2 separate regions of the Homo sapiens genome follow, and region 2 is linked to region 1. Evidence: promoter capture Hi-C in 16 types of primary human blood cells and fetal thymus (Javierre and others, 2016). All regions are on one chromosome and are shown on one strand. The core of a region is centred on a gene start or on the middle of the fragment in contact, and the rest is flanking DNA. Distances in the headings are between cores, read along the strand shown. Region 1 holds the start of TAGLN2 (transgelin 2). Region 2 overlaps USF1 (upstream transcription factor 1).

Evidence for each region. The method cuts DNA at HindIII sites, captures the fragments that hold promoters and counts their contacts. A CHiCAGO score of 5 or more calls a contact.
Region 2: a contact is called between a fragment that was not itself captured here and the fragment with the promoter of TAGLN2 in region 1, in 1 of 17 cell types (fetal thymus). The highest score is 5.9, in fetal thymus.

Annotation. Positions count from the first base shown.
Region 1 is chr1:159,923,226-159,926,816 of GRCh38, reverse strand. It overlaps TAGLN2 (transgelin 2), which reads left to right and starts at 1,310. Exons shown (of 5, transcript NM_003564.3): 1 at 1,310-1,367. LOC124904437 (a long non-coding RNA gene) reads right to left here and starts at 2,939. Exons shown (of 2, transcript XR_007066683.1): 1 at 2,866-2,939; 2 at 1-2,338. RefSeq lists enhancers at 1,632-2,208, 1,681-2,880, 3,020-3,179, 3,190-3,289 and a silencer at 1,940-2,349. The HindIII fragment of the contact is 4,255 bases long and covers 1-3,048 here.
Region 2 is chr1:161,041,277-161,044,954 of GRCh38, reverse strand. USF1 (upstream transcription factor 1) reads left to right here. Exons shown (of 11, transcript NM_007122.5): 2 at 1,595-1,687; 3 at 2,073-2,122; 4 at 2,285-2,400; 5 at 2,738-2,839; 6 at 3,109-3,304; 7 at 3,544-3,631. The coding sequence starts at 1,680. Among named protein-coding and RNA genes, the nearest start is that of USF1, 2.9 kb to the left of the region's middle. RefSeq lists enhancers at 1-178, 3,039-3,198. The HindIII fragment of the contact is 2,818 bases long and covers 1-2,659 here.

The DNA of each region.
Region 1 (3,591 bases), core at 61-2,560:
TCAGTGAGGCGGACAAAGAAATAGTTACCGTATGATAAGTTCCGTGATAAAGCTATGTGTTGGTTATTGTAGCACAAAGGAAGATGTTGCATTCAAGGCCACCTTTAGTGAACGCTAATATCGTGTGCTGGGACAAATGCCACATATTGGGGGGGAGTCCTCAGGACCCTCACAGATAGATGGTGGTAATAATAGTATTCACTATGTGCCAGGCACTGCTCTAAGCCCTATAGGTGGACTGTTTAGTTCTCTACAATTCTATGAATTAGGTAGTACTATTAGCTCTGTTCTATAGACCAGGGAACTCAAGCATAGAATGCACAACAGTCACACAGCAGGTAAAGGGTAGAGCAGGTGGGGAGCCAGTCAAGGAAGGGAAACTGTCCTAGGCAGAGGAATAGCCTTTGTAAAGGCACAGAAGAGTGAGAATGCTTGACAATCAGTGGGACTGGAATATAGGGCTGTGTAGGACTCGGGGAGGGAACAGAGAATAATAGAAAGGTTGGACAGGACTGGATATTGACATCCTGGAATCTCAGGTTCAAGGGAGGACTCTATCATGTGTGCAGAACTCCACCCCGGGGGACTCTATTCAACTGAAGCCTGAAAGGATGGGGGGCTCTTTCTCCACCCCTGAACTGTGCTGTCCTCCACCCTCAGAGACAAAAGAACCCCAGCCAGCCTCCTCGCGCTGAGGTCTCCCCCTCTGATCCCTCCAGGATTTAGGAAGAGATACCAGGTCATAGAAAAGGAGATGAAAGGCAGGGAGAAGACAGGTCTGAGCCCTGGGTCCCAACACCGAAAACACCCCTAGGGCCCTGGGCAGAGTGACCTCACTGTTAGTCCCTGCCCAGGCTTGAAGTAAGAGGTGAGCAAGATCACGTGGGGGTGCTGTCCCGGCCTGCAAGTCCCAGTCCTGTCACACACTAGTCAGTTGGGGTCGGGGGAAGGCCTTCCTGTGCCTCCTTTTACCTTGCCAGCCTCTAAACTAGGAGGCTTCTTCCTACATAAACACGCCCACAGTGTTTAGCTAACTTTCTAGGCAGAAAGTTTCCTACTGGGGCACAAGTCTACGGGCTCTCGGTGGAGGCTGAGGTACTCACGGGTGGAGACCACTGCAGCCGCCTTTGTAGATTCAGACTCCCCGAACCTTTAACCCTTGCTCTGGTCTACTGTCCCTCTGTCTCAAGCAGTCCTCCCTCCTTCTGCGCTGCGGCGCCTTTAAACCTTCTTGGCCCTTGCCCCGCCCCGGGTCCGCCCCGTCTGAGGCGGGACCCTCCTGAAAATCCCCGGCTGGGCAGGGCGCACCACTTGCAGCTGCAGCCCTTGCCTTGAGTCAGTGCGCCGCTCTCCAGCCCGCTTGAACGGTGAGCAGGTCGGGGGTACGGGGGTCGGGGACATGTGCGTGCTGTGTAGAAAGCAAGAAGCCAGCGCTTTGAACTTGCTCCAGCGAGCTCGGGGATCAAGGGCTGGTACCAGGCAAGGGTCCGGTGACTACTTTACCCCGCCCCGTGCTGTCAGGTCCTGTCCCCAAGCCCTGACCCGACATTGTTGGACGATGAGGTCAGGCGAGGTTAGCCCATGCATAGACAGGGCGTCCGTCTGGAGCAGGGACTCAGGGACTGAGCCCCACCCGCGGGCTCCATCGCTGAGTCCTCACTGGGGCGAGGGGAAAAAAGGGCGTCGGACTTTAGCTGGCTGGCCCCGAGTGACCCCGGGTCGTGGCGCCGGCCCTGGGCCAGCTCGTGCTCCTGGGCTTTCCCGCGCGACCCTTCACTTCCTGGTTCCAGGAGCACGTGTGAGCACTGCGTGCCCTCTGAGTCCCCGAGGCCGCCCTTTTCATTCCTGTTCCTGCTAGCTTGCTATTCTGGGGACTTGAGGTCACGGGCTGGGGCTAGGGGGCTCTGCATGGGTCGCACGGTGACCTTCTGTGAAGCTCCAGTCATCTCTATGACGGTCCCCTGACCTCGGGGGTCTGGGTGCTGCAGCCCTGACTGCGCCCCGGGGTGCCCTGTGTGAGGTTGTGGGGGTGGTGGTGGCTGCTTTTACCCTGCCCGAGCGCCGCTGCCCCCACCGGGTGCCCCCTGCTGCTGGGAAAGCCGGTGGTGGCCGCGGGCGGACGGGCGGGCTGCCCAGACCACTGCGTCACCCCAGCGGCGGGAGGGCGGTGGGTGACTCATCTGTTGTAACGGCCCAGGGTGTGGTCGTGGGGGTGGGGGGCGGCGGCTGGGAGGCCGGACCTGCAGGACCGGAGGTGGACTGCCGCCTCCCCCCGCGCCCTGTGCCTCCTGGGGCTACCTGAAGCCGGTGTCCTGGGAGATCTGTGAGCAGTTGGTATCTGTGGGGCAGAGAGAAACGGGGTGAGAGTGGGGATGGAGTGTGGGATTCGATGTAGAAGACCTGCGGCTGGGACGGGGCTCCCCCAGTGTTCTCATTGACTTCAAAGCACCAGACAGCAATGGCTCTCTATCTCTAGCCCCCTCCCAGTTTCTCCTCCCCACTACAAGGGGCAGACCTACAACTGCAGAGGAGGCCAAGGCAGGGCGGGCCCAGTAGGGCCCTACCATTCCAGAACCAACAAATAGGTTTTGTCCAACCGCAACTCCCTCCCTCACCCCAAGGCCTCTGCCCCTGTCCCCCACCCCGGGATTGGCCCCTAATCCTTTCTTCATTCCATCCCTTCTCCCTCCAGAATTTTCAGCTGTGGGTTCTCTAGCTCAGAACACTTTCCCTTCCCAGGGGATTTCTTCTCCTGAACAACTACTTCCTGAGTCCTCTTCTTCACCCCAACACGGGTCATTTCCTATCTTCCCCCACACGCTGTCCATCCCCACTATAGCTGTCTCCTGGAATAATCTCTTGCACCTGGCTACACCCGAGCACTGCTGAGACGATCCCACTTCTGCTCCCGTGCTCACAGCCTGCTCACCACAACGTCTGTGTTGACAGGGTGTTTCTGCCCGGAGCCCCCACCCAGCCTCCAACACTGTTTGGTACACAGAAGCCATGGCAACGGCCCCCACCTCATCCCCTCCTCCCACGCAAGCTTTGGAGCTTCCTGTTTGTGTAGCCTCAGCTTTCTCTTCTGCTCCTGACTCTCGGTGGTGAGGGGCTGCCCTACGGTGGTTCCCTTAATTGTGGGCCGCCCCCCATCCTTGCTGCTGGCTGTGGCACCTCGCTCTGTGGGCTGGTGCCCTCACTGTGCTGCTCTTTGAGAACACTCCCTGTCCCAAATCTGAGTTGGGAAGTTCTCCTGTGTTCCATCTGCACGGTGGATGGAGAGTCCCTTTGTCTTCCCAATTAAACACCCTAGCCAAGAACCCTGAAGTCCTCCCTGCCCCCACCCATGTCCGCCTTTTCTTTGGCTTTGGCTTTGGTGAGGTAAGCTTCCAGCCCAGGGTCTGGGTGGGGCCGAGTGCCTTGCGTGGCCCCTCCCCGTTTCCCGCCTATTGTAACTCCAGGGTGAGGGTGAGGGTTGTTCTCACAGCTGCAGTAGCGCTAGGGTTTAGGTTGCTCCCTGCCAGTCCATCCCCCAGGTTGTTCAGCTGTCACCTTCCTTTGGGGTCCCCAGCTCTGGGGGTCCCCCACACC
Region 2 (3,678 bases), core at 1-2,500, 1.1 Mb before region 1:
TTTCCGAGGCTTATCCATTGAAAATTTTCCTTGGATAGGAAAGGTTTGGAGGACCTTATGGGTAGAGAATTTCCAAAAATCTTGCCCCTTTTGTGTTGGGATTATCTTATTGCTTTGTACTGTGTAGCTGTTTCTTTCTGGAGGCATGTCTGCCCAGCTCTTTGTTTTTCCTGCCCTCTGGCTGGGTGTCAGGGTCCTAAGGCAGAGCTTGTAGGTGGATTCTTCCCCCTTTGTCTCTTCTTCAGAACCCTGTTTTTTTTTTTTTTACCCCTTCTTGCTCAGGCTTAGTTGATTTGGAGTTGTCATAGCAACATTTTAGCAACAGTGTTGTTCTGCAGGAAGGCTTGATGAATAAAATAGAGAATGCTTGAAGAGGATCCACTTGGGCTTTAGGGTTTCTAACAGATTATATAAATCTGGATACCCCAAAACAAGAGTCCTGTCAGTAGAATGGGGCCCAAATGCCAAGTCTAGTCTTTGTGGTCAGGGATATTCTTCCAGTGGTAGTGGGCTTCAGATTTCCTCTTCCTAGGTTTGAAAACAGAAATGTCTTGATGGACAACATGTGGCTGAGAAACTGGAAGAAGCATCAGTGTCCATGACACTGTATTTTTTGATGGTGGGGCCAATACATGGCCCTTCCTGATTCCCATGAAGCTGCCATCATGGCAGGTCATAATAGCTTTAATGATCCATTTAGAGATGTGTTGTTGGCTGGGTGCGGTGGCTCATGCCTGTAATCCAAGCACTTTGGGAGGCCGAGGCAGGCGGATCACCTGAGGTCAGGAGTTCCAGACCAGCCTGGCCAATATGGTAAAACCCCATCTCTACTGAAAATACAAAAATTAGCTGGGCGTGGTGGTGGGCACCTATAATCCCAGCTATTCAGGAGGCTGAGGCAGGAGAATCACTTGAACCCAGGAGATGGAGGTTGTAAGCCGAGATTGTGCCACTGCACTCCAGCCTGGGTGACAGAGCAAGATTCTGTCTCAGAAAAAAAAAAAAAAAAAAGAAAGAAATGTGTTGTTTCGGCCAGGTGCAGTGGCTCACACCTGTAATCCCAGCACTTTGGGAGGCTGCCGAGGTGGACAGATCATGCTCTCAGGAGTTCGAGACCAGCCGGGCCAACATGGTGAAACCCCGTCTCTACTAAAAATACAAAAATTAGCCAGGCGTGGTGGTGTGCACCTGTAATCCCAGCTACTCCGGAGGCTGAGGCAGGAGAATCACTTGAACCTGGGAGGCAGAGGTTGCAGTGAGCTGAGATCGCGCCACTGCACTCCAGCCTGGGTGACAGAGAGAGACTCTGTCTCAAAAAAAAAAAAAAAAAAAAAGTGTTGTTTCTGTCTTCCAGTATAATTATCCACTCTCCACCAGGAGTTGGAGTGATAATGGAGGGATGGGGAACACTATTTGTAGCCTTGCTTTTTCAATCACTGTAGGCCAGTCCTCAACATCAGTATGGTGGAGGCTGATTGTCCCCTGCAGATGACTGGGTTATTTTCCTGGCTATGTGTTCATGGAACCTAAGTTCTAGAACCAGAGATACTGTTCTGTTTCCTAAACTCATTGCAAACTTCATGATTTCTACCAGGACTTAGCACTCAGGCCTGTGAATCAGGAGATACAAAGACCTCCAAAAAAGGACCAGTTCCTCGGATGTGCCCCCTCACAGAGAGATGAAGGGGTGAGTGAAGAAGAGGTAGGGTCTGGGATGAAAGATGGGTGGCCTGGAAGAATGCAAAATGACCAAGAGCACTGCCTCTGGAGTCAGGCAGACCTGGATTCAGGTTCTACTCTATCACTTACTGTGTGATTTGGTTTCTCTATCTATAAAATGGAAGTAGTGCTATCTATCTCGTGGTGCTGTTTTTAGTACTAAATAAGATTACATGTAATGTACTTAGCTTAGTGCTTATGTACATAGTAAACAGTAAACACTAGTTGTTATTCTAACCTAACCCAGCTTCTGTTGGGAATGCCAATGAGTTTGCAGCCATATGTTACTGGGCCAGTGAGCTTCTCATTGACTTCTTCTCATACTCTTCCTTTTGTCCTTTCACCACAAACAGGCAGCAGAAAACAGCTGAAACGGAAGAGGGGACAGTGCAGATTCAGGAAGGTGAGTGCTAGAAACAGAACCAAGACTAAGAACCCATCATGGCCTCCCTTCCTTCCCCACCAGACCATCTCCTGTGCATCCTCCTCCTTCCGTGACATGCAAATGGAACGGGGGTAGAAAGGCAGTTAACTCACAGACTTTTCCTTTGTTCTTTTAATTCAGGTGCAGTGGCTACTGGGGAAGACCCAACCAGTGTGGCTATTGCCAGCATCCAGTCAGCTGCCACCTTCCCTGACCCCAACGTCAAGTACGTCTTCCGAACTGAGAATGGGGGCCAGGTAAGGGAGGGGGCCAGGTGGCTGCAGGTGTTATCTGGGGTTGGGATTGAGGGAGGTAATTGAACATGTCTTGGGGAGACCTGGCTTGGAGGATGAGTTGAAAGAGTGGACTGTTGCAGGGGAGGGAGGTGCTAATACTGGAGTAGAGACTGGTGTGAGGTTAGATGTATGCTGAAACCTCTGTGTGGGGAAAGAAGGGAGAATGGCTGAATCCATGTCTCTGAAGGACTTTGTTTTGGGGCCCTATCCAAGGGAAGCTTTATGAGGGGCCCTAGGATTCCCAACACTTAATCTTTTCTTCTCTCTTCACTCCCTCTGCCTTCCTCTACACTTCTAGGTGATGTACAGGGTGATCCAGGTGTCTGAGGGGCAGCTGGATGGCCAAACTGAGGGAACTGGCGCCATCAGTGGCTACCCTGCCACTCAATCCATGACCCAGGTACAGGGTATGGGCTGGGGAGGTCACTAGAGTTCTGAGAAGTAAGATGAAGAAGGGAATCAGTAGGATGGGGGTGAAGCTAGGAACAGTGAGGCATCTAAGGCTGCCTTGTCCCAAAGCACTAGGCTCTCCTTTTCTGGATGTTTCTCTCTCTCTCTCTCTCTCTCTCCACCCTACCTACCACCCCAACGGATAGAAGCTGCAGAGTGGTGTAGTGGGAAGAAGTTTTTGACTGTTACCAGAATCAGTTTTCTTGCTCCCCTTCCCAGGCGGTGATCCAGGGTGCTTTCACCAGTGATGATGCAGTTGACACGGAGGGGACAGCTGCTGAGACGCACTATACTTACTTCCCCAGCACGGCAGTGGGAGATGGGGCAGGGGGTACCACATCGGGGAGTACAGCTGCTGTTGTTACTACCCAGGGCTCAGAGGCACTGCTGGGGCAGGCGACCCCTCCTGGCACTGGTGAGATATTGCATGAGGATGCTGGCTGAAAGGGCTAGAATAGGCTGTGGGACATGACTGGTAGGCAGTGAGCCTTCACTCATGACTCTTAGTGATCATTAAGACCTGGACAGGCAGTGAGTCTGGGGCTGCTCTTCTATTAGCATGTTCTTTTTAGAGGAGGGGACCAGGGTCTTCACCTCAGGGCTTGGTGAGGTTCCTACCCATGTCCTGACAGAACCTACCCTGCATCTTCACAGGTCAATTCTTTGTGATGATGTCACCACAAGAAGTACTGCAGGGAGGAAGCCAGCGCTCAATTGCCCCTAGGACTCACCCTTATTCCCCGTGAGTGACCCTTGTTTCTTCTCAGATTCCGTAAGTGGTTTTTTTTT